6 separate regions of the Homo sapiens genome follow, and regions 1, 2, 4, 5 and 6 are each linked to region 3. Evidence: promoter capture Hi-C in 16 types of primary human blood cells and fetal thymus (Javierre and others, 2016). All regions are on one chromosome and are shown on one strand. Each heading gives the region's core, a stretch centred on a gene start or on the middle of the fragment in contact. The rest is flanking DNA. Distances are from core to core; before and after follow the strand shown.

Region 1 (4,432 bases), core at 846-3,345, 230 kb after region 3:
AAAGAAAATGGAGCAGACATATTTTTATATAATGCTAATAGGATACCTGTTATTTCATTAAATCAAGGTAAGATTTATTAGGAGAAAAACATTATAGTCTAAATAGCAAGCTTAAAACGTAATTATTAGGTTAAAATATACCTAATCTTTGTCATTAGGGGTTATAACATTCTAGTGGGGAAAAAACAGAATACCTTTTTAAAAAGATGCACTAACTTACCGATTAGCAGGAAAGATACAGGGAGACCTTGTTGAGAATAGAAGACTCCTACTCTCTGGTCTGTGGTATGCCTGTATGCAACTAAAATTTACAATGTTCTGTTACTCCTTTATATTTTCTTGAAGTTTTGTCTGATCTGTAAAAGCAGGTCAGTTTTTTATTATTTTTTTTTTTCATTTTTTAAAACTATGAGTTAGCCCCTGGAGGAGTTAGTCAGCTGGAGAAGGTGGTCAGTTTCCTGTGGAAGTTGTGTGTGTTTCTTGGCAAAATATGAGTATGGGAATGGTGGTAGTAAAATAATACAACAGGAAAAGAATTAGCGTTCAGCTCTAGCTACAGGAATCTATTTTAGTTATATTTAAAGAAAAATAAAAATGAGAATCTGTTCCTGATGCTTTCTCTCTATAGTGAGGCATCCTGTAGCTTGCTTGGGTCTTACATGGTGTATTTTCCAATGTGAGTGCCAGCTCCACTGAGTCACGCACAGATTCTACTTACATCTGCACTGTCTCAGCACCAGCCAGCCCTTCTTTAATTTATAGGTTTCCATCTCTTCAACTATATTATTATTATAATAAAATTTGTTTTCATCTGTTTTTAATTTTATTATGAGAAATATTAAATATATATAAAAAATAAAAGAGTAAAAAATAGTTATTCCTGGCTGGGCACAGTGGCTCACACCTGTAAAACCAGCACTTTGAGAGGCCGAGGTGGGCAGATCCCTTGAGGGCAGGAATTTTAGACCAGCCTGGCCAACATGGTGAAAAAAATACAAAAATTAGCCGGCTGTGTTGACGCATGCCTATAATACCAGTTTTTCCAGTATCTGTTACTGTTTTCAGTTGCCAGTTTTGTAGAGTGTGAGGATTTTTAGTAAATTGTATTGAAGTAGAAATGCCTATGGTTTGGAAAGTACAACATACTGAGAGTGATAACATGTCATTTCAGGTGTTGTGGGCTGAGCTTTAAACCTTATCCTAAAATGTTACTGATTCTTAATGCGTTAGTTGTATTTAATGGAGAATTCCTTTTATTTGCATGTTTTGAAGACACTGGTTAAGGAGCGGATTTAAAGAAATAGTGTCTTGTTTTTAAATTTATTCTTTTGACTTAGTTCTTCATAAACATTGTTTTTCTGAAAAATATTTTCCCTTTCTCTTTTCTGCATAGCATCAATAACTAGCTTTCTCACAGTGTTAGCTTGGTATCCCAATACTTTGCTCCGGACATGGTGCCTTGTGCTTCATAGCCTAACACTCATGACAAACATGCAGCTTAATTGTAAGTTCATAAATTTATTCATTTAAATCTCTGACATATACTTTAGTGTTCTACTATTGGATTCTTAAAACAGAGTTTTCCAAGGAGTGGTATACTTGTCAAAGTGGTTGAGTTGGCCAGATGTGGTGGCTCACGCCTGTAAACCCAGCACTTTGGGAGGCCAGCACGGGTGGATCACTTGAGGTCAGGAGCTCGAGAGCAGCCTGGCCAACATGGTGAAACCTTATCTCTACTAAAAATACAAAAGTTAGTGGGCGCCTGTAGTCCCAGCTACTTGGGAGGGTGACGCACGAAAATCACTTGAACCTGGAAGGCGAAGTTTGCAGTGAGCTTAGATCACGCCACTGCACACCAGCCTAGGTGACAGAGTGAGACTCTGTCTCCAATAAAAGTGACTGAGTTTTTTCTTCTAACATGTCTCTTCTGAATTAGTTCTTATATATCCTTTGTGCTTGTTTACTTTGATAATATAGTCTCATATGTCTCGTTGGATGTTCAAATCATATTTTTTACCTTTTAAAAACTGATTAAAAGAAAATTGATTGCTTTTAGAGTACAAAGGCAGGTTTTTACATTTCATCTAAGTTTTTATGTTATTCTTTTAAGATACCTTTGTACTTAAAAATGATTTATTCATTATTATATTCATAAACATGCATAACTAGATTCCTGGGTTTTGTTTAATAATTTAAATCATTGCTTAGCTTTAAAATGCTATTATCTTTTTTCATTTGGAATGTATTTTCCAAAAATGAGATCAAAAGCATCACTGTGATACTGAAGGTGGATTTCATGCAAAGGATATTTTATTCATCTCAGAAAACTGTTGTGTTACCTGTACGTTAGTTCACAGTTAACCTGTATACAACTAACATGCAAAAAGGAATAATTTTGCTACAACTTATTTTAGAAAACTTGATTAAAGTTTACCTGAAAAGTAGATCTCTGACTGTTTCTGGAAGGGGGAGTTAGTTAGAATAGGCTTTCCAAATAAGAGTCAGGACCTAGTTATATCTTTTCTGTTTGACTGTACTAAATAAGATGTACATTAAGCTCGAGGTGTTTTCAGAATCAGAAGGGGGCAGAAGAGATAGATGGTAGATAGAGAGGGAAGTCCTGCTTAGTCAATATAGTAGAAACTGAAACCCCTTTAATAAACTGTAATTACTAGGAATGTATGAATTTTCCTTGGAACTAAAAGATGCTTTCAGATACTGCATTTCCATTATTTCATGGTCCATTTCTTAAGAGGTTTTTAAAAAATGTTTTATAGCTGGTTCCAGCAGTGCCATTGGAACTCAGGAGAGTACTGCTCATTTGTTGGTTTCAGATCCAAACCTAATTCATGTATTAGTGAAATTTCTTTCTGGCACCAGTCCACATGGAACAAATCAACACAGTCCACAGGTAATATGATGTTTAGCCTGGCATATGCCCAGACTATTCAATAAACAGTATTCGTAATGTAAAGCTATGTAACTTTTTTATTGCTAAAGTATTAAATAATAGCCTTTTATGTATCAATATAATAAAAAAGGTTTTGTTATTTGTAATAATAGCTATACTGACACTAAATAATAGCAGGTGGTAAGTTAACCTCTTAGAACAGTGATACTAGGTTTTCATATAGATACATATTTTTGGCATTAATTTTGGATAATTGGAAACATTCTGAGTAAATACTGCAAAGGTAGAGAAGCATTTCAAAAATTTTGGAATCAATAAATTTTAATATGTCATATTTGATTACTTCTACTATCAAGATTATCAATTCACCTTAATCATTTTATGATGTTAATGATTTTGCTTAGCAAAAGATAACAATATTGCTCAGGACTTATAAACATTTTCTGTTTCACTGTAAATTTTCCTTTATATCAATTTAATTTCTTGTTATGTTGTACTGCTTCTGTGTAAATATTTGTACTTCATTATATTTCTTTTAAAGTAAAAATATATTTAGCATTTATAACATCTTTTAAAATCAAGATTATTCAAGATTATCTTGCAAGTTTATCATTTTAAACTTCTTGGATTTGCCGTCAGATAAATTCTAATTTAGTTGTCCTCAACAGCCCAGTTTCTCTATTAATTCACTTATTCAGTGTTTAGGAGGCTTCTGTGTGCTTGTTCTAGGTACTAGACATACAGTATTTACCAAGATCAAATATCTGCCTTCATAGAGCTTTAGTTAATACTCTAATACTTAATATATTTTAATTTTACAGATCTTAATAAAATAAATGAGACAAGGAACAAGTAAGAGAGAAGAAACTAACTTACAGTTAGATTGGGACAGGGTTTTGGTAGGGGCAGAGACATGTTATCAAGTGATTATTGTACTTAAAGATTGATTGAATTTCAAACAGGAAGACTCCTCGGGATCACCAATTCTGACTTAATTGTTTTACATGTAAGAAAACATGCATCAGCTATATTGCCCCAAATTACATAACTAGTTATCTGTATAGCTAGGTATCAGTGAACAAGGCATTGCAAAAAATAATATTTTCTTTCTGTTTTTGAATAAAAGAAAGGAGGAAATAACTTTTTAAAACTTTTTAAGTTACTGAAGATCAAGCTTTCCTACTGATACCTTGGTTTTATATAGGAAGTTCTGATACGAAAGCTATAATTTGTATGCTCAGTATCAGAAATTAACTTTATTTAACTCTAAAATAGTTTGGAGGATTATATTGTATTTTATTTTTCCAGAACTACTCCAAGGTTTTATGAGTTGTTCATCAAATCAAATTAGGATCAAATAAAATAATATGTAGAAGTGTTAGAGCACACTTCTACCTCAGGTTACTTAATGTAGTGTTCACTATCATTTCTTTCATTGATGAATTAGAAGTTTGGGAAAGCAGTTTTTTTTTTTTTTGACTTGGTATAAATTTATTTTTATTTAGTTTTTGTTTTGTTTTT
Region 2 (4,665 bases), core at 1,748-4,247, 180 kb after region 3:
GAGAGGTTGATAAATTAGTATGAACATATGGTTAGAAGAAATAAGTTCTAGTGTTTGATAGCACAGTAGGGTGACTGTAATTTGTGGTATATTTCAGAATAGTTAAAAGATTTAAAGTGTTCCCAATGCAGAGAGGTGATGGATATCCTAAATACCCTGGTTTGATCATTGTGCATTGCATCCATATTTCAAAACATCACATATACCCCCTATATATGTGCAATTATTATGTATCAAAAAAGAATGAAGGTAGTTATCAAGTAGGAATTCATAAAGCAGTTCTCTAAAATAGCACATATATAAGGTAATGAAGATTTTTAAAGATTCTTACTGTTTTTGCTAGTACATGGTGTTACTATGAAGGGCTACTAACTTGGCCTTTTAAGCCAAATTTTATTTATTGATAGACATTTTTCACAATCTGTTTTATTAAAAAACAAACCATTCAGGCTGGGCACAGTGGCTCACACTTGTAATCCCAGCACTTCGGGAGGCCATGGAGGGAGGATTGCTTGAGGCCAGGAGTTTAAAAAAACAACCCATTCAACAAGTTACCTCAGTGAGTTATATATTTCATAAAGATTTCATCTTTGTGTTAAACAAAAAAAATGCTTGTTTAGAGTTGTTGAAAAGTTATATCATTTTCTTAATTTAGGTAAAGCGTGTTTATATTTACATTGAACATATTTTGGCTACAACCATTAACTCTATGGAATAGAACATTTTGACTCAGTTGCTCATTACGATAGTCTCTAATGTTTAAAAGCTTCTTAAGGATAGTTTTAAAGTTGGGACGCTTAAGTTTTGGCATGTATGTAGCAGTTAATAAAAGTAAAAATACACTGTCATGATAATCTTTTAAGCAATGTCGATCTGTACCTAACGCATTATAGAATAATTTTATTCCCCATTCATTCACTAAAATGGGCTGTTTGAAGCTCACTGCCATCCACTATTTTTTAAAGTTTAGTACAGAGAAACAGTATGTTGGTAAGGATGATTTGAAGGACCTTCAGTCTCCTCACTTTTTCAGCTATTTCGAAGTGTCCCTCAGAGGCATCTCACATTATTATACACCTAAATAAATACACATTATTATACACCTAAATGACTTTATAAAACTCTCCAGAAATATTTGAAATTCTTAGTGTAAGACTGTGCCTCAGTGTGTTGTTTATATTTTAAGTGTCCTCTTTGATCCCTCCAAGGAGTTATCTTTGTAAATTGCCTATAAGATTGTCTTTCCAGAAAAGGGAGTATCTTTCTAGCAAAAGGAAGTATTCTGATAAATAGGTAATCTTAAATTCTCATTGTTAGAGGAAAAGGAGGAAAAAGAAACATTTATTTTGTTTTTATTGTTTCCAGGTTCTGTCTATTGGTATTTTGTCTTACTGAATTATGTGAAAGATGAAGATCTGGCTGGATGCAGTACAGCTTGTGCATCTTTGCTTACTGCAGTGTCCAGACAGTTACAGGACAGGCTAACACCAATGGAGGCTTTACTTCAGACAAGGTATTTTAGTATATCTAATGACTAATAATAGGCGTCTCTGAGTATGATCACGCTTTTGCAGAGAACTGTTATTTAATATATATATGCTGATAACAGTCTTTTTCTTACAAAAATGTTTAGTTTATACCTTACTTTTTCCATACGATAATAGCCTGAGGTTTTACTTTCTTCTGTTTTGTCAGAAATTACTCTTTTTTTTTTTTATCGAGATGGAGTTTTGTTCTTGTTGCCCAGGCTGGAGTGCAATGGTGTGATCTCAGCTCACCACAACCTCCATCTCCCGGGTTCAAGCGATTCTCCTGCCTCAGCCTCCCGAGTAGCTGGGATTACAGGCATGCACCACAGGCCTGGCTAATTTTGTATGTTTAGTAGAGACGGGGTTTCTTCATGTTGGTCAGGCTGTTCGCAAACTCCCAACCTCAGTTGATCCGCCCGCCTCAGCCTCCCAAAGTGCTGGGATTACAGGCATGAGCCACCGTGCCCGGCCAGAAATTACTCTTTAACAGTTTGATAAATCCTTATGATGGTTATTCAGAGGGCTAATTTTATTTAATAATGAAAAGTGGTATGCCCTGCTAATGGAAGAAGAATGTAATGTGTCTGTTTCTCTGTGCACTTTATAGGTGGAATTATGTGAGTCACTTATTGTCCCATAACTAGTATTCTTCTACCTGCTACTTGTATTTCAAAACTTCTAACGTGATGAATTAAGCAATAGCAAAAGGTTAGATTTAAGTTCTTGCCTGATTGTCTACGTTTGAAGTAAGGCGTTCCTTTATTTAGAGCAGTGATTTTATAATTTCCTAGGTTAGATGTTCTGATTTTGATGACATTTTACTCAAAGCCTTTGTACTTGAGGCTATGTCGTAATGATTCACGGGAGAGAATGGTGCCTGATACCCCTCGCTTCAATCTGCAGGTGGCAGTCTTAGTACCTTAGTTGCCAGCTTATTGGAATCACATTTGTTGAGTCTCTGGACAGTGTCTTTTAGAGTATAGATTGCAGGGAACATAGTTGAGATTCACTGAATTTGATGGGTCAAATCTAGTCAGCATCTCCCTCTGCGCTGTTTTTTTTTTTTTTTTTTTTTTTTTTTTTTTTTATTGATCATTCTTGGGTGTTTCTCGCAGAAGGGGATTTGGCAGGGTCATAGGACAATAGTGGAGGGAAGGTCAGCAGATAAACAAGTGAACAAAGGTCTCTGGTTTTCCTAGGCAGAGGACCCTGCGGCCTTCCGCAGTGTTTGTGTCCCTGGGTACTTAAGATTAGGGAGTGGTGATGACTCTTAACGAGCATGCTGCCTTCAAGCATCTGTTTAACAAAGCACATCTTGCACCGCCCTTAATCCATTTAACCCTGAGTGGACACAGCACATGTTTCAGAGAGCACAGGGTTGGGGATAAGGTCACAGATCAACAGGATCCCAAGGCAGGAGAATTTTTCTTAGTACAGAACAAAATGAAAAGTCTCCCATGTCTACCTCTATCCACACAGACCCGGCAACCATCCGATTTCTCAATTTTTTCCCCACCCTTCCCGCCTTTCTATTCCACAAAACCGCCATTGTCATCATGGCCCATCCCCAATGAGCCGCTGGGCACACCTCCCAGACGGGGTCGTGGCCGGGCAGAGGGGCTCCTCACTTCCCAGTAGGGGCGGCCGGGCAGAAGCGCCCCTCACCTCCCGGATGGGGCGGCTGGCCGGGCGGGGGGCTGATCCCCCCACCTCCCTCCCGGACGGGGCGGCTGGCCGGGCGGGGGGCTGACCCCCCACCTCCCTCCCGGACTGGGCGGCTGGCCGGGCGGGGGGCTGATCCCCCCACCTCCCTCCCGGACGGGGCGGCTGGCCGGGCAGAGGGGTCCTCACTTCCCAGTAGGGGCGGCCGGGCAGAGGCGCCCCTCACCTCCCGGACGGGGCGGCTGGCCAGGCGGGGGGCTGATCCCCCCACCTCCCTCCCGGACGGCGCGGCTGGCCGGGCAGGGGGCTGACCCCCCCTCCCCCCTCCCGGACTGGGCGGCTGGCCGGGCGGGGGGCTGACCCCCCCCACCTCCCTCCTGGTCGGGGCGACTGGCCGGGCAGAGGGGCTCTTCACTTCCCAGTAGGGGCGGCCGGGCATAGGAGCCCCTCACCTCCCGGACGGGGCCGCTCGCCGGGCGGGCCCCCCTATCCCCCCACCTCCCTCCCGGACGGGGTCGCTGCCGGGCGGAGACGCTCCTCACTTCCCAGACGGGGTGGCTGCTGGACGGAGGGGCTCCTCACTTCTCAGACGGGGCGGTTGCCAGGCAGAGGGTTTCCTCACTTCTCAGACGGGGCGGCCGGGCAGAGGCGCTCCTCACATCCCAGACAGGGCGGCGGGGCAGAGGTGCTCCCCACCTCTCAGACGATGGGCGGCCGGGCAAAGACGCTCCTCACTTCCTAAATGGGATGGCGGCGGGGAATAGGCGCTCCTCGCTTCCTAGATGGGATGGCGGCCGGGCAAAAACGCTCCTCACTTTCCAGACTGGGCAGCCAGGCAGAGGGGCTCCTCATATCCCAGACGATGGGCGGCCAGGCAGAGACGCTCCTCACTTCCCAGACGGGGTGGCGGCCGGGCAGAGGCTGCAATCTCGGCTCTTTGGGAGGCCAAGGCAGGCGGCTGGGAGGTGGTTGTAGCGAGCCGAGATCACGCCACTGCACTCCAGCCTTGGCACCATTGAGCACTGAGTGAACGAGACTCCGTCTGCAATCCCGGCACCTCGGGAGGCCGAGGCTGGCGGATCACTCGCGGTTAGGAGCTGGAGACCAGCCCGGCCAACACAGCAAAACCCCGTCTCCACCAAAAAAAACCGAAAACCAGTCAGGCGTGGCGACGCGCGCCTGCAATGGCAGGCACTCGGCAGGCTGAGGCAGGAGAATCAGGCAGGGAGGTTGCAGTGAGCCGAGATCGCAGCAGTACAGTCCAGCTTCGGCTCGGCATCAGAGGGAGACCGTGGAAGGGGACCGTGGAGAGGGGAGAGGGGAGAGGGGAGAGGGGAGAGGGAGAGCCCTCTGCGCTGTTAGTCAGACTGCTTTTAAAACTAAGTAAAGGTAATTTGTTAATTAGATGGCTGAAAGGAAAATTGTTAGTGCATTATTTTATTTTTCAGATATGGATTATATAGCTCACCATTTG
Region 3 (4,080 bases), core at 1,042-3,541:
TGAAACCCCATCTCTGCTAAAAGTACAAGAAATTAGCCAGGCGTGGAGGTGCACACCTGTAATCCCAGCTACTTGGGAAGCTGGGACAGGAGAGTTTCTTGAACCCAGGAGGTGGAGGTTTCAGTGAGCCAAGATAGCACCATTGCACTCCAGCCTGGGTGACAGAGAGAGACTCTGTCTCAGACAAAAAAAAAAAAGAATAGGACTGAGACCAGTGTACTCTCTTGGAATGTAGCTATGGCCCTGCAACCCCTCCCCGCAAGCTGTCCAGTGAATAACTGAATTGGGTGGAAGAAGTCCTTCCCCCACATTTGTACATTGGAAAATAATATAATAATATATATTATATATATATAGGCAATCTGCCTGCCTCGGCCTCCCAAAGTGCTGGGATTACAGGCATAAGCCACCATGCCCAGCTGGAAAATAATATTTAGTACTAATTCTAAAATTGGCATTTTCTTAAAAAAGGTTACATGAGCTCCTCAGAGAACTGAAGTTTCTCTGGACCCATATAACCCACGTCTATGGGGTCATTCCCACACCTCACAGATAAAATAAGGGAAAGAGTACATATAATTAGGAGCAGACAGGAAGCACACAGAAATGGAAAATGTGTGTGGGCTTTGGCATTGCAGATCTGAATTCAAATCCTCACTCTGCACCTTATGAGGTAAGTATCCCTAGACATGTTACTTAGCCTTTCCGAATCTTGCTTTCCAAATCATGCATAATATTCACCTCCCTGGACTATTGTGAAGATTAAACATGAAAGTAGTTGTGACAAAGATGGTCAGTGGGTATTATCTGTCTTCCTTTCTAGTAAAAAGGCTCTAGACTAGAATGTTCTTAGGTCTTTAATAGGCTTCAGCAATCTCACATGTTAATATTAGTGTTATGTGCTGAACTGGGCTTCCCCCAAATCCATATGTTGAAGCCCTGAACCTCAGAATGTGACTGTATTTGCAGACAGAGCCTTTAAAGAGGTCATTAAGCTCAAATGAGGCTGTTATGAGAAGAGGAAATCGGGACACACAAAGGGAGATACCAGGAATGTGCATACAGAGAGAAAAGGCCAAGGAGGGAGGCGTGGGGAGAAGCCAACCCTGCTGACACCTTGGTCTTGGACTTGCAGCCTCCAGAACTGTGGGAATATAAATTTCTGTTGTTTAAGCCACCCAGTCTATGGTATTTTAAACACATTAATACGACTAATATTATAAAAGTGTGTGAACAGTTAAGAAGTGTGCTGACCAGGTTCTATCCTAGTTTTGTAGACAATTAGCAGTGTGATGTAGGGCAGGACATTTAACTCCTCTCTACCACATTTTCCACCTCTCAAAGCCAGGCTGCAAGGATCTACTGAGATAATGTACATAAAGACCCTATCACGAAATAGGTGTCCCGTAAAGGGTGATTTCCTTCACTTCTGTCTCCAAATATCAGGTTTCTCATCAGTAACTTGGGAGATTGGATGGACTAAGTAGTCCACCTCGTTCCTTTCAGCTTTGATCATCTGTGATTCTAACAACAGTCTTAGCAACAAGAGTGAGTTTCCTGGCCGGGCACGTTGGCTCACACCTGTAATCCCAGCACTTTGGGAGGCTGAGGTGGGCAGATCACGAGGTCAGGAGTTGAGACCAGTCTGGCCAACATGGTGAAACCCTGTCTCTACTAAAAATACAAAAATTAGCTGGGGCGCGGTGCCGGGTGCCTGTAATCCCAGCTACTTGGGAGGCTGAGGCAGGAGAATTGCTTGAACCCAGGAGGCAGAGGTTGCAGTGAGCCGAGATCACGCCACTGCAGTCCAGCCTGGGTGACAGAGCAAGACTCTGTCTCAAAAAAAAAAAAAAAAAAAGAGTGAGTTTCCTTTCTGTAATGCCAAAAAGTGTTTCCAAAGTCCTTTCCATCTCACAGTAGTCCAAGGGGTACATGTACCCCTTGAACCTGATGAAGCCCCAGCAGACCCGATTAACCACCCCTAAAGGTTTCTCGGCAGGCAAATCCAGCCAGGCATGCAAATCACACTCGTCAATGTTAAGGCTTTTGTACATCCCAGACACAAGCTTTAAATGAATGTAAACCCAGATTTTAATATTTGGGCCCCAGACCTTAAAAATCCCATTCTCTCTACCCACAGTACCTGGCTGAGCAATCCAATTGCCCTCTTCTTGGGAGACCAAGACATGTTTTTAAAATAAAGTTTCTTTGTATTTGCTTTCCGTTTCAGTGAGGCCTCGAGTTCTTGTAGACCAGATACCTTCTTGTTCTGTGAGAGGACAGTGTACAGAGAGGGGAACTGCTGAGCAGTTCCTTTTTTTTTTTTCAAAGCACAGTAAGAGTGGTTTGGACACAAGTACTACCAGTTCAGAAAGGGAAGATGGGTGTAGGCAGGAGTAGCCGGGGAAGAAGTAGAACTTCAGAGTAAAAGATGCAAGAGCTAGAAATTCCGTCAAGAAAGGAATTACTCATTTGTTTCCTGTTTGTTCACAACATATGAATTCATTGCTGTTGAGTTACTTATTCTATACCTTAAAATGAAACAAAGTCTTCTGAACATCCAACATATATTTTTTTTCTTTTTCTTTCTTTTTTCTTTTTTTTGAGACAGAGTCTTGTTCTGTCACCCAAGCTGGAGGGCAGTGGCACAATCTCAGCTCACTGCAACCTCTGCCTCCCGGGTTCAAGCGTTCCTCCCGCCTCAGTCCTCCCAGTAGCTAAGACTACAGGCGTGCACCACCATGCCCGGCTAATTTTTGTATTTTTAGTAGAGACAGAATTTCACCATGTTGGCCAGGCTGGTCTCGAACTCCTGACCTCAGGCAATCTGCCAGCCTCAGCCTCCCAAAGTGCTGGGATTACAGGCGTGAGCCACCATGCCCAGCCACAACATGTATTTTTAATGCTTAACCATGGGAGATAGAGCGGTAAATGAAATGAGCCAGCTTAGTTGGCTAAAGCACATTGCTACTGCATTCAAGGTCATGCTTACCCCTGTACCTTGAATCCCAGAGGACTTCCAGCAGATGTGTTCTCTCAGTCAGCAGGGTTCTGGGCAAGGTCACACAGGGCAAACAGATCACCAGTTTTGGTCCACTCCACCGATGACGCACGGGGACACCCTCCGGAGTATAAACAGCCAGGGGCTTGCACAGGCACACTCACATTGGACGTTTGTGTTCACAGACTCCAGGAGGCCAGCTTATACTCAGCTGAGGACTGAAGAAATCTCTCTGCACTTCCCTTGAGGATGACATTCTTGCATACTCTTTCCTCTGTCTTTGCATAAACTACCAGGAACATGTCTTTGTGTTACATAACTTCTTATTTCAAAAAGAGCATTCTGACAGTAGCCTATCTGCCATAGAGGGATACCAAAGTTTCCCGGCAAATAAATGTCTACATCCTGGGTTTTCTAAGGGGGCATCAGTGTCAGTGTTTCCCAACTTGTGAGGTGGGTTTCTCTGAAGTGAGATTGAGGGCTACACTATCAGCTAGATTTTTAAATTGTAATGAAACCTATATATAAACATATGTTCAAGAGAAAAAACTGCAAAGACAGCCACCAAAATAGTAATGATGCTTATTGCTGGGGAATACAATTATAAGCAATTTTAAATTTCTGTCTTTGGCTTATCTGTATATTCTAATTTTATTTATCAACTTATTTATTTTTTATTTTATTTGTTTATTTATTTATTTATTTATTTATTTGAGACAGAGTCTCGTTCTGTTGCCCAGGCTGGAGTGGAGTGCAGTGGCTCAATCTTGGCTCACTGCAACCTCTGCCTCCCAGGCTCAAGCAATTCTTGTGCCTCAGCCTCTCAAGTAGCTGGGATTTCAGGTGTGGGCCACCACCATGGCTAATTTTTTGTATTTTTAGTAGAGACAGGGTTTTGCTATGTTGGCCAAGCTGGTCTTGAGCTCTTGGTCTCCAGTGATCCACCTGTGTTGTCCTCCTAAAGTAATGGGATTACAGGCGGGAGCCACCATGCCCAACCTGTATATTCTAATTCTTCATAGCAAACACCTATTACTTTTGTACTAATAAATGATGTAATATAGAATAAAAAGGGAAAA
Region 4 (4,484 bases), core at 1,985-4,484, 140 kb before region 3:
TCCCAAGTAGCTGGGATTATAGGCATGCACCACCACGCCTGGCTAATTTTTGTATTTTTAGTAGAGACGGGGTTTTGCCATGTTGACCAGTCTAGTCTCGAACTCCTGACCTCAGGTGATCCACCTGCCTTGGCCTCCCAAAGTGCTGGGATTACAGGTATGAGCCACCACACCTGGGCTGAAATTACTGTTTTTATAGGTCAAAAACAGTTGAGGGATAGGCATGGTGGCTCCCACCTATAATCCCAGCACTTTCAGAGGCCAAGGCAGGAAGATTGCTTGAGTCCAGGAGTTCGACACCAGCCTGGGCAATGTAGTGAAACCCCATCTATATTTAAAAAAAAAAAATAGATGAATATCTTTGTTTGCAGATAACATGATTGCATATGTAGAAAATCCCAAAGAACCAACAAAAAGAGCTCCTAGAACTAATAAGTGATTATGACAAGGTGTAGAATACAAAGTTAATATACAAAGTCAATTGCTTTTTTATCTACCAGCAGTGAACAACTGGAATTTGAAATTAAAACACAATACTGCTGGGTGCAGTGGCTCACACCTGTAATCCCAGCACTTTGGGAGGCCGAGGTGGGCAGATCACCTGATGTCAGGGGTTCAAGACCAGCCTGACCAATATGGTGAAACCCCATCTCTACTAAAAATACAAAAATTAGCTGGGCATGGTGGCGGGTGCCTGTAATCTCAGCTACTCAGGAGGCTGAGGCAGGAGAATCGCTTGAACCCAGGAGGCAGAGGTTGCAGTGAGCCAAGATCGCGCCATTGCACTCCAGCCTGGGGGACAGAGCAAGACTCCGTCTCAAAAAAAAAAACACAATACCTTTCATATTAACACTAATAAAATGAAATATGTGTAGTTCTAACAAAGTTTGTTGTAGAAGATCTATATGAGAAGAATTATAGCACTCATGAAAGAAATCAAAGATCTAAGTAAACTGAGAGATATTCCATGTAAATGGACAGGGAGACTAAATATTATTGAGATGTCAGTTCTTCCCAAGTTCATATATCGATTCAGTGCAGTCCCAGTCAAACCCCAGCCAGTTATTTTGTGGATACTGGCAAACTAAAGTTTATATGAAAAGGCAAAAGACCTAGAACAGCCAACACAGTATTGAAGAAGAAAAAAGTCAGAGGACTGAAACTACCCAATTTCAAGACTTACTGTAAAGCTACATTAATCAAGACAGCATGTCATTGGCAAAAGAATAGACAAATAAATCAGTAGAATTGGACAGAGAGCCTAGAAATCAACCCACACAGATAAAGTCAACTGATCTTTGGCAAAGGGACAAAGACAATTCAGTGGAGAAAAGATAGCCTTTTCAACAAATGGTATAGGACAACTGGACATCCACATGCAAAAAAGTTAATCTAGACACAGACCTGACAACTTTCACAAAAATAAATGGATCATAGACCTAAATGTAACATGCGAACTGAAACTTCTAGAGGATAACATAGGAGAAAATCTAGGATAACATGAGAAAAATTTTTGGTTTGGCAGTGACTTCTTAGGTACAATACCAAAACATGATCCTTGAAAAAAAAAATCAGTATGTTGAACTTTGTTTAAATTATAAACTTCTGCTCTGTGTAAGATGCTGTTAGGAGAATGAAAAGACATGCAGCAGAGTGGGAGACTTTACAAAATTCATTATCTGATGAAGGACCAGTATCCAAAATATACAAAGAACTTTTAAAACTCAACAATAAGAAAATATACAACCCAGTTAATAAATGGGCAAAATATCTGAACAGACACCTCACCAAGGAAGATAGATAGATGACAACAAGCATATGAATATATGCTCAACATCATGTCGTTAGGGAAATTGCGCATTAAAACAACAACAAGATACCCTGCCATCCCTATTAGAATGGCTGAAATCTAAAACACTGACAACACCAAATTCTGGCAGGGATGTGGAGCAGCAGAAACTTTAATTCATTGCTGATGGAAATCTAAAATGGTAGAACCATTTTGGAAGGTAGTTGGACAGTTTTTTACAGAACTAAAGACAGTTTGACAGTTTCTTACAAAACTCTTACCATATGGTCCAGCAGTCTTACTCCTTAGTATTTACCCAAATAAGTTTAAAATGTACATCCAATAAAAAAAACTGCACATGAATATTTCTAGCAGCATTATTCATAGTTGCCAAAACTTGGAAGCAGTCAAGGCATCCATAAGTAGGGGAATGGATAAACAGACTTTGGTATATCATGTAATGGAGTATTATTCAGCAATAAAAAGAAATGATCTATCAAGCCACAAAAATATATGGAGGAACCATAAATGCATATTGCTAAATGAAAGAAGCCAGTCTGAAGAGGCTACACTATAGGATTCTGACTATATGATGTTTTGGAAAAGGCAAAACTATGGAAACAGTAAATAGATCAGTGGTTGCCAAGGGAGACAGGGAGAGATGAATAGGTGGAGCACAGTGGATTTTTAAGGCAGTGAAACTGTTCTTTATGATAATCCAATGGTGGATACATGTCATTATACCTTTGTCAAAACCCACAGAATATAAAACATAAGAGTGAACCCTAATGTAAAATATGGACTTCAGTTAATAATAATATATGAATATTTTTTCATTAGTTCTAACAAGTGTACTACACTAATACAAGATATTCAGAGTAGGGGAAATTGGAAAGGAATGAGAGGTTATATGGGAACTCTGTACTTTCTGCTCAATTTTCTGTAAACCTAAAATCACTAAAAAAAAAGTTTATTTTTATTTTTATTTTTTTTTAATTTTTAATTTTTTGAGATGGAGTTTCACTCTTGTTGCCCAGGCTGGAATACAATGGCACGATCTCGGCTCACTGAAACCTCCGCCTCCAGGGTTCAAGCGATTCTCATGCCTCAACCTCCCGAGTAGCTGAGATTACAGGCATGTGCCACCACGCCCAGCTAATTTTGCAGTTTTAGTAGAGACAGGGTTTCTCCATGTTGGTCAGGCTGGTCTTGAACTCCTGATCTCAGGGGATCTGCCCGCCTCGGCCTCCCAAAGTGCTGTGATTATAGGCGTGAGCCACTGCGCCCAGCAGGTTTTTTTTTTTAAGTTGGATATTAGCCATTTCATATGATTCAACTTAAAAGTACATACACCTTCACTGTTATTAAAGTGTAGGTGAGATGTTTTCAGTCTGGAGCTCTACCCTTGATTCCTGCCATGCCTAGTGTCCCTGAATCTGGAGACTCTGACTTATTTCTTTAGAGAACGAAACTCCTGCCTTCTGCTTTGGTGGTGATTGGTACCTGCTTGACTGCCTTTGGTGGGGAGTTCCTCATACCAACTTTCAATCAGTTCCTGTGTTTGTTTGTTTGTTTGTTTTTGAGACGGAGTTTTGCTCTGTCGCCCGGGTTGGAGTGCAGTGGCGCAATCTTGGCTCAATACACGCTCCGCCTCCCGGGTTCACGCCATTTTCCTGCCTCAGCCTCCTGAGTAGCTGGGACGACAGGCACCCGCCACCACGCCCGGCTAATTTTTTTGTATTTTTAGTAGAGACGGGGTTTCATCGTGTTAGCCAGGATGGTCTCGATCTCCTGACCTCGTGATCCGCCCGCCTTGGCCTCCCAAAGTGCTGGGATTACAGGCGTGAGCCACTGTAAGCCACCGTGCCCGGCCAGTTCCTCTGTTTTTGACTGCCTGCCTTACTACTGCTTTCTGTGGTGCCTGATAACATCCAATTCCTGAACCTTCCTGGGATTTTTGTTCACGTCAGCGTGCTTCTTGCATTTAGGTATCCCTTCACAAGTAGGCATTTAGGTTTTAAGCTCTGCTAAGTGATTTACCACACTTTATCAGTTCTCCATTTTGTGGAATTCATTGTGTTAATCTCCTTTTCTATTTTTGTTTGGAAGATTCATATATTTTTTATTCATTTAGTATTTTTTGGTGGGATTTCTAAGTAGAGAAACATGCCTATGTTCAATATGTCTTGTTTAAGCAGTCTGCTTTCATTTTTACCACCGAGGAGTTGGTTTTATTTCTTTTTTTTTTTTTTTTTTTTTTTTTTTTTGAGACAGGGTCTCACTTTGTCAGCCAGGCTGGAGTACAGTGGCACAATCAAAGCTCACTGCACCCTTGGCCTCCCAAGCTCAAGTGATCCTCCCACCTCAGCCTCCTGAATAGCTGGGAGCTCAGGTGATCCAGCACACCCAGCTAATTTTTTTTTTTTTTAATTTTTTGTAGAAGCAGAGTTCCCCTATGTTGCCCAAGCTGGTCTTGAACTCTTGGGCTCATGTAATCCTCCTGTCTTTGCCCCCTAAAGTCTGGGATTACAGGTGTGAGCCACCACACCCAGCTGTTTTTAATTATTACATTAATTTATGATTATGTGTTTCCTTTAAAGCTATGGGCAGCTCTGTTTGGGAAGATGCTACTGAAAAAAGGATGCTTTTTAGATGGCAAAGAGTACTTAAAATGTCTCTAGAATCATAGTTGTAA
Region 5 (4,441 bases), core at 1,119-3,618, 140 kb after region 3:
GGCTGCCTTCAGATCTTTACTAAAAAACTTTTTAGTAAAATAATTTAGTAAAATATTTAGTAAAATAACTTTTTGTGTTATGAGTGGCATTTATCGAGTTTCAGCTGTATATCATTTATAGTTGTGGCCCCTGATAGATATGGAGAATTTTAAATTGAAACATAGTAGTTAATCATTCAAAGCTGTAGGAAACCAGTGTGAGGAAATAACAGGAGTTTAAACAATTTTGTAGTATGTAATATAGCATTGTATTGGTTTTTCAGTTTTTTCTGAGATTGACTTTATAATCAGTTAAAGTGAGTAACAACTGCTATTGTTGAATGTTTGGAATATTGAATGTGTGAATTTGTAAACGGTTGAACATGTTAGAGTGATCTTCATAAAACTGAATGATTTGGTTATATTAAGTCTTTAATGATGAATACTTTAAGTTCAGTTAAAAAAAGATGATGATCCTGGAGTTCTGTTTTAATGTACAAACTGAATTGCTTTATTTTTAGTAAACTTTTCCTTTCTAAATCTATGCAAAGGTCTGAACACGAAAGACATTCCCCAAACTGCCCATTTGTGAAAGGTGAGCACACACAGAATGTGCCATTGTCAGTCACTCTTGCAACAAGTCCTGCACAGTTTCCTTGTACGGATGGAACTGACAGAATATCTTGCTTTGGGTCGGGGAGCTGCCCTCATTTTCTAGCTGCTGCAACTAAACGAGGAAAGATCTGCATATGGGATGTTTCCAAACTTATGAAGGTATGTTTGAATTTTGAAGTAACAAATTAGTAATTGAAAAAAGATCAGTTGTAAACTTAGGCTTTTCATTTGTTTAGGTGCACTTAAAGTTTGAAATTAATGCCTATGATCCAGCAATTGTACAACAGCTTATTCTATCAGGAGACCCAAGCTCAGGAGTTGATTCAAGGAGACCAACTTTGGCGTGGCTGGAGGACTCCTCTAGTTGCTCAGATATACCAAAATTGGAAGGAGATAGGTATGTGAGTTTGTTTTAGTAGTATTTAATAGATGTTACATGTTTTCCTAAATTTTATATTCTCATAGTTCTAATAATTAAAGAGGAGGAAAAAAAAGTTACGCAGTTAAGAGATCAGAGAGTAAATGTTTGGTTAGAAATCTGAAATCTGTGATTCTTGAAGAAAAATCTTCATTCAGAAACACCGTAGTTTATAAAATATGCTTAACTTTCTATCACAATCTATGTCAATTGGAAATAATTGCCACATTGAACAATAGATGATGAAAAGTCAACATTGGAAAGTCTAAATAATGAAATGAAATTCTATTGTAGTTTCACCTTCTGCTAAATCTTTTCATAGAGCATTCGAACTAGATGATTTCAGTTTCCGTTTTTTCATTAGCACCTCAAATTATGGCAGTGCTAATGAATAATAATAATGGGATGACCTGAGGTGAGGCAAGAGGATCTAATTGTTTAAAACAGTGTACCAGTAGTCAGCAGTGAGTTGAGATACCATAATTATTGCTATAGAAATATTTTGGTAAAATTGCTGTTCTGGATTCTCCTTCACTCAACTTCTCTGAGAGATTCCTGATTTTTGTGGTGGGGTGGGAGAGTCAAAGTATCACCCTCTTTCACCCACTTGTTTCCTAAGAACCACTGTGGTTTTGACTGAACTGGGCTAGTAAGATTCTGTAGGTGGAGGGGAAGAAGATTGTGTAGGCAGCCATGTGAAATGGAGCTATTTAACTGTGATCAGATGTCTTGATAGACTGAGAATATCTGCCATTTCACTTCCAGGGGCTCCTTATGTTACTGACATGTGATGGGTGTTACTCTGTAGTCAGTGATTTATCATTTTACTTCACAACCCCTTTGGTGGGATGTCCTTTCATTAAGGAATAATGTAAAGTTTTATTAATGGAAATTATTTCATTAATGGAATTAGTGGAAAATTTACAATATATGTGTTACTTCTGTCTAGTTCCTCTTGGTAATAACATGTTGATTAAAGCCTTGTGGTTGTTCTATTAATATAAATCTCTGTGAAAGCTTAATGGGAAAGCAGCTTAACTGTTGTCTGAGTTTCTGACCATATTTTGCCAATAGGACTAGATATTAAGCATGCTTAATTTCTGTGATTTCTTAGAAGTTAGTGGAAAAGTAATAGAAGATAATGAAATTTATATGTCCTTCTAGGCACTTACTTTAATTTGAACTTTGTCTTGAAGTTTTGTAATTTGGGGATTAAAAATGGAATCAAAATATACTTCTAGGATTACATACACCCATACACATATAGTCACACCCTCCTAGGTAAAATCTGCATTTTAGATAAACATGTATTCTGTATTATTAGTGGAAATACTTCTCAACATTATATGGGGTAATGTGCTTGAGTTGAGGTAATCTCTACTTGCTTTTAAGAAATTCACAATCTAGGGTCGAAGGTCAATTTTCTCTGAAGAAAGTCTCAAACAAATCATACAAAAACATTAAGTTGATGTGGTAGGAGGAAGCTGAAGAGGTGAAACTTCATCCCTAACCTTAAGCCCCCTCTCTTCACTTCCCCTCCCCAAGAAGTAGGAGCAGTCCTGTTGGAATTGATAGTGAATATAATGAGCCACACTACCTCTCACTTTATGTGACACAAGATCCAATATGTTTGGTTATAAAATATACTATGTGGGTTTCATTAGCTTGAAGAATAATACATTAATTGGAAAAATCTAAGCTTATCCAAGAAGTTTAAAGTAATTAGCAATATAGTTTGCTTAGAATAGTTTTTGTAAAATTTGTTTTTATTTCTTATTTACATTGAAGGACTAAGGAATTGTTTTTGACAATTTTTTCTTAGAAGACTATATTTGTCTTCTGAATTAAGGAAGAAGATATGCTAATACATTTAATTTTAATGAATTAAGATTTCTTCTAGATGATTCACTTGTCATTTGTATATCAGGTCAAGTTGGTAAAAATTCCTTGAATGTAAATGAAATTGTTTATGGGATTGCTGTAAACCAAGGTACTGTTACAATATTAGTATGTCTGTTTTTCAGAAACACATATAATCTTAACTAAACATTTTTACTTTAACCATAATATTTATTTTGCATGTTTATTGCTTTGTAAAAGGTTTTGCAAAATGTAGAAGGCTTTAGTAAATACAGTGCCTATTATATAAATAGTGCATGCTTATTGCAGGAAAATGGGAAAATGCAGGAGTGGAAATTGATGAAATATAGAGTAGTCATAATCACACTATGGGATTATGGTAACATTTATATGTATTCTAGTTTCTTTTTAAAATGTGTGTGTGTTTTTTTTTTTTTTTTGGAGACAGAGTCTCACCCTGTCGCCCAGGTTAGAGTGCAGTGGCGCAATCTTGGCTCACAGCAACCTCTGCCTCCCAGGTTCAAATGATTTTTCTGCCTTAGCCTCCTTGAGTAGCTGGGACTACAGGTGCCCACGACCCCTCCTGGCTAATTTTTTGTATTTTTAGTAGAGAAAGGGTTTCTCCATGTTGGCCAGGCTGTTCTCGAACTCCGGACCTCAGATGATCCACCTGCCTTGGCCTCCCAGAGTGCTGGGATTACAGGCGTGAGCACCACGCCCAGCCGCATGTGATTTTTTAAAAAGTTTTATTGAAGTGTAATTTTCAAACCATACAATTCATGTAAGTGTACAATTTAGTTATTTTATTCATATAATTTTTTTTCTTTTTTTTTGAGAGAGTCTTGCTCTGTCGCCCATGCTGGAGTGCAGTGGTGCGATCCTGGTTCACTGCAATCTCTGCCTCCCAGGTTCAAGTGATTCTTGTGCCTCAGTCTCCTGAGTAGCTGGGACTGACCCGTGCCACCATGCCTGGGTAAATTTTGTATTTTTAGTAGAGACGGGTTTCACCATGTTGGCCAGGCTGGTCTCAAACTCCGGGCCTCACGTGATGTGCCTGCTTCAGCCTCCAAAAGTGCTGGGATTATAGGTGTGAGCCACTGCATCTGGCCTTAGCCATAAAATGTTTTTGTCACAAAATATTTTAAAAGAATGTGATTTTACAAATATATATATATAATTTTTTTTTTTCTCTTGAAACAAGGTCTTGCTCTGTCACCCGGGCTCACGGCTCACTGCACCCTTTACCTCCTGGGCTCAAGTCATCCTTCTACCTCAGCCTTCTAAGTAGCTGGGACTAAAGGCATGTACCACCATGCCCAGCTAATTTTTTATTTTTTTGTGGAGATGGGGTCTCACTGTGTTGCCCAGGCTGGTCTCGAATTCCTGGGCTCAAGCAGTCCTCCCTCCTTGTCCTCCCAAAGTGCTGGGATTACAGGTGTGAGTCACTGTGCCTGTTGCCTGATTATATTTTTGAGAACTTTCAGAATAAAACATTCTTTGCTAATTTAAGGCTTTTATCTGGCAACTGTCTTTGAAATATCAAGACACCTGAATTCCTTTAAAACATAC
Region 6 (4,096 bases), core at 1,564-4,063, 210 kb after region 3:
TTCTCTCATAGGAGCAAGAAGATTTGTGACCTTGGATTTTGGGAGGCCTATATTGTTGACTGATGTATTGATTCCCACTTGTGGAGACTTGGCCTCTTTGTCAATTGACATTTGGACATTAGGAGAAGAGGTGGATGGAAGGCGGTTGGTAGTGGCAACTGATATAAGCACTCATTCACTAATTCTTCATGACTTAATACCACCTCCCGTGTGCAGATTCATGAAGGTAAAGAACTTTAAGAAAGTAAATTGATACGCTTTCTATGTTTCTGACAAGTTATGAAAAATGAATATATAATTAAAAAATATAACTATCTTTTTAAATACATTGCTCAGATTTTTATTGTGGCAGATGTGTATATATGTATATTTATAATTTTTCATTTCAGATCACTGTTATTGGACGTTACGGGAGTACAAATGCCAGAGCCAAAATCCCATTAGGATTTTACTATGGTCATACCTACATCTTGCCTTGGGAAAGTGAACTGAAGTTAATGCATGATCCTCTAAAGGGAGAGGGAGAATCTGCAAACCAGCCAGAAATTGACCAGCATTTAGCAATGATGGTTGCTTTGCAGGAGGATATACAGTGCAGGTTAGTACAGAGTGCAAATTTTAATGTTATTGAAACTTTGTATTTTATATAATGTCTTGCTTATAATTCTGTCAAGAAATGTCTTTTCATAGGTGTACAGATAAGAGAGCAAGAGGAAGTAGGAGATTAGCACGTTACAATAACACTTAATGCGTGAAAATATTGTGATTAATTAATGGGCTCCATTTATTAGTACCTATCAAGTGGGTAATTCTTTTTAATGGTTGTATGTTAACAGGTTTAAGAGATTTAATTCTTAGTATTTGTACATGTACATAAAGAGGACATTACAAGAATTATTTTGTTCAATCTTTTTTTACTTTAGGTATAACTTGGCTTGTCATCGTCTGGAAACCCTTTTGCAAAGTATTGATCTTCCTCCTCTAAACAGTGCTAACAATGCACAGTACTTTTTACGAAAACCAGATAAGGCAGTTGAGGAAGACAGTAGGGTTTTTTCTGCTTATCAAGATTGTATTCAGCTACAGCTTCAACTAAATTTGGCTCATAATGCAGTGCAGAGGCTCAAAGTGGCGCTAGGTGCAAGCCGGAAGATGTTGAGTGAAACATCAAATCCAGAAGATTTAATTCAGACATCTTCCACAGAGCAGTTACGTACTATCATCAGATATTTACTGGACACTTTGCTCAGCCTGCTTCATGCTTCTAATGGTTTGTATTTGGCTTACATATTTTAAAGGCTGGGAATATACTTGATGTGATTTCGCTGCATGTTTTAGGATCTGTGTCAATATTTTCTATTGTAAATTTTGGTATTTTAAAAAATGTCAGTATTTATGAAATGTCTCTTTAGGTTAATCTATTTCTCCCTGTTATTTTAAACATTTCTTAAATGAAGTTGTGTGTGTTTTTTTTGGGTTTCTGGTATTGACATGCACATCATTGTGCTACTGGCAAAGTATTAAGTATTGCATTGAAGTTGAACAGTGAAACTTTTCATAAATTGCTAACCTAATATAGAGCTATCATTTTCTAGCCAGGAGGTATTTTTGATCATTACACGAGCTCACACATTCACTGACACAGCCATCTGACACATCCAGCTCCATAGGCAAGAAATGTAATTTACTTAAGTGCTAAATATTTTCGTCTCCAAGTATGTAACAGATTTCTACATACAAGGAGTAAATACATTGCAGAATAAATAGAATATAATTATCTACTGATTACTAGAAAAGAGGAAAGTGTATTTAGGCATGCGTATTTTAATATTATACAATACATTTAAATAGGAAAGTTTACTGTTTTCTTTCTTGTAATAGGACACTCTGTTCCTGCAGTTTTGCAGAGCACATTTCATGCCCAGGCCTGTGAAGAGCTCTTTAAACACTTGTGCATCAGTGGAACCCCAAAGATACGGTTACATACTGGTCTTCTTCTTGTTCAACTGTGTGGTGGTGAAAGGTGGTGGGGTCAATTTCTTTCTAATGTCCTTCAGGAATTGTACAATTCGGAACAGCTTCTCATCTTTCCACAGGATAGGTAGGTCAGAAAATGTTGGAGGTATTTGTTATTAATGATGTGTACTTTTCACAGTTACTGGTTAGCTTTTGAAATCTTTGAAATGTGGATACTAAGTTGTGAATATGAAGCAGATCTCAGAGTTTGTGAAATGACCAGTGAAGGGCACCAGCACTGTGTATCGAAGAAGATAATAAGTGATAATTAGAGTCTACTCTTTAGTTTTCTAATTGAACTTGTGGACTTCATAGATCTGTGTTTATAAGTATTTCTATTAGATTATGTTGCTTTATATGCTAAATGTGTTTGTTTGTGGCTAATAAAATTCTCTCATTCACTAAGTGCTTGATTTCTTGTTAATAACATTAGAAAATGTAACCAGTAGTTAGAAAAAAAACTAATTTTAGCTTCATACCTCCAGATACAAATCTTGCTTTCCCAGTCTGAAATATGGTATGTTTTAAGAAAGCAAATATTCTATCATTACTCTGTTAAATTTCTATGTAAATTATTTTAAAAATTGAACAATCGAATTGATTCTTATTCTTTTCTTTTTTGTTTGTTTTGTTTTTAGGGTCTTCATGTTACTTTCCTGCATTGGTCAAAGATCACTTAGTAATAGTGGAGTATTAGAAAGCTTACTTAATCTCTTGGATAATTTATTGTCACCTCTTCAGCCACAGTTACCCATGCATAGGAGGACAGAAGGTATTAAGAGAAAGCAGTGTTCTTTAGTAAAAACAATATTCCTGCAAATATTTCTTTTATAAAATATCTTCTCTGAAATACTTTAATAATTATTTGCAGCACATTTAATATTTTTATGATGTAAGCTTTTAAGAATGAGCAACCCTCATGTGATTGACTGCCATATAGTTAATACTTTTAAAATTTATTCCTTTTCATTATTTGAACTTAGTATAGTATGTTTTTCCTGTACTATTATAACTAAAGTCAAACTCCCTTACATAAGTTTGAGCTGTAAGGCACAGTTGTTGTTCCCATCAACAATAATGAGTTTTGTTTGAACACACTTTTTTATAGGAATAAAAACATTAGAACCTAGTTTAGTGCTATATGAATTATAAGTTGAGAGTTAGATGTTTTATTTCAGTTCCTGTGAATCTAAGAATAGTATCTTATACCTTGCTTTCTAGTTTATATAGTCCATTTTGGATTCAGCCTGCACTTAATCTGTTCTTATACCTTGAAGTCTTTGTCTTTCATTAGATTTGATGTTCTACTCAGTTTCTGGCTGTTGGTGTCTATTTTTTAGACTTATTACATATAAATATTAGTGTTAGTAATGATAAGATATGTTTTGGATTTATAGAATGTTTTGTTTCACTTATATTATCAGATCTAATTAGGAATCCTAAAGTCATCTGGATGTTTTTCCTTTGCTGTCATCTCTCTCCAGGAGTACTAGATATTCCCATGATCAGTTGGGTTGTTATGCTGGTGTCCAGGTTGCTGGATTATGTGGCAACTGTTGAAGATGAAGCAGCAGCTGCAAAGAAACCTTTGAATGGTAAAGACAGGGAGAGGTTTCTGACAGGTATCAGAAGTTTATAATAATATGTTGGTGGGGATTTTGAGTGACTTCGCAGTTGTTCCAGAACTGGCTATTGGCCTGGAGCTACCAGCTGTATGTAATTTAAGGAAAATACAAATGAACTTCACTACAATTCTGTTTAAAGATAACATTTATACTTGGTGGACTTTATAGACAAGCTCCTTTGTCTGGACATGACTTTTAGTTTCTAAATGCAGCTATGACTTTTGCAAGGTGTCTTCCCTCAGGCTTGTTTAAAGACTTTATAATAGCATGCATGTAAGTGAGTTATGAAAGGGAAATCAGAGTTTTTATTTTTTCTTAGTATGATGTGTCATTTCATTTAGCATTATTGGTATCTACTAATTAACTACAAATGGCCTGTATTTTTAAATACAGAAATTCTCAGATTTTGAGTTGTAAGCTTTCTTTATAGGTTCAAAGCACAGAAAAATTTAAAA

What was found. The method cuts DNA at HindIII sites, captures the fragments that hold promoters and counts their contacts. A CHiCAGO score of 5 or more calls a contact.
Region 1: a fragment that was not itself captured here is called in contact with the fragment with the promoter of NLRC4 in region 3 in 1 of 17 cell types (monocytes); the score reaches 6.8 in monocytes.
Region 2: a fragment that was not itself captured here is called in contact with the fragment with the promoter of NLRC4 in region 3 in 3 of 17 cell types (neutrophils, monocytes and M2 macrophages); the score reaches 6.1 in neutrophils.
Region 4: a contact is called between a fragment that was not itself captured here and the fragment with the promoter of NLRC4 in region 3, in 1 of 17 cell types (neutrophils). The highest score is 5.3, in neutrophils.
Region 5: a contact is called between a fragment that was not itself captured here and the fragment with the promoter of NLRC4 in region 3, in 1 of 17 cell types (M2 macrophages). The highest score is 9.0, in M2 macrophages.
Region 6: a fragment that was not itself captured here is called in contact with the fragment with the promoter of NLRC4 in region 3 in 1 of 17 cell types (monocytes); the score reaches 6.3 in monocytes.

Annotation. Positions count from the first base shown.
Region 1 is chr2:32,488,648-32,493,079 of GRCh38, forward strand. BIRC6 (baculoviral IAP repeat containing 6) reads left to right here. Exons shown (of 74, transcript NM_016252.4): 42 at 1-67; 43 at 1,394-1,504; 44 at 2,778-2,911. Among named protein-coding and RNA genes, the nearest start is that of MIR558, 41 kb to the right of the region's middle. The HindIII fragment of the contact is 3,975 bases long and covers 109-4,083 here.
Region 2 is chr2:32,444,156-32,448,820 of GRCh38, forward strand. BIRC6 (baculoviral IAP repeat containing 6) reads left to right here. Exons shown (of 74, transcript NM_016252.4): 21 at 1,366-1,513; 22 at 4,640-4,665. Among named protein-coding and RNA genes, the nearest start is that of MIR558, 86 kb to the right of the region's middle. RefSeq lists an enhancer at 3,110-3,687. The HindIII fragment of the contact is 4,466 bases long and covers 765-4,665 here.
Region 3 is chr2:32,262,595-32,266,674 of GRCh38, forward strand. NLRC4 (NLR family CARD domain containing 4) reads right to left here and starts at 2,292. Exons shown (of 9, transcript NM_001199138.2): 1 at 2,144-2,292. The HindIII fragment of the contact is 10,627 bases long and covers 2,065-4,080 here.
Region 4 is chr2:32,122,443-32,126,926 of GRCh38, forward strand. The region is part of intron 7 of SPAST (spastin); the gene reads left to right. Among named protein-coding and RNA genes, the nearest start is that of SLC30A6-DT, 41 kb to the right of the region's middle. The HindIII fragment of the contact is 6,892 bases long and covers 1-4,484 here.
Region 5 is chr2:32,400,633-32,405,073 of GRCh38, forward strand. BIRC6 (baculoviral IAP repeat containing 6) reads left to right here. Exons shown (of 74, transcript NM_016252.4): 7 at 531-753; 8 at 831-991. Among named protein-coding and RNA genes, the nearest start is that of BIRC6, 46 kb to the left of the region's middle. The HindIII fragment of the contact is 682 bases long and covers 2,028-2,709 here.
Region 6 is chr2:32,467,514-32,471,609 of GRCh38, forward strand. It overlaps BIRC6 (baculoviral IAP repeat containing 6), which reads left to right. Exons shown (of 74, transcript NM_016252.4): 27 at 12-226; 28 at 390-598; 29 at 924-1,270; 30 at 1,882-2,101; 31 at 2,655-2,788; 32 at 3,501-3,611. Among named protein-coding and RNA genes, the nearest start is that of MIR558, 63 kb to the right of the region's middle. The HindIII fragment of the contact is 196 bases long and covers 2,716-2,911 here.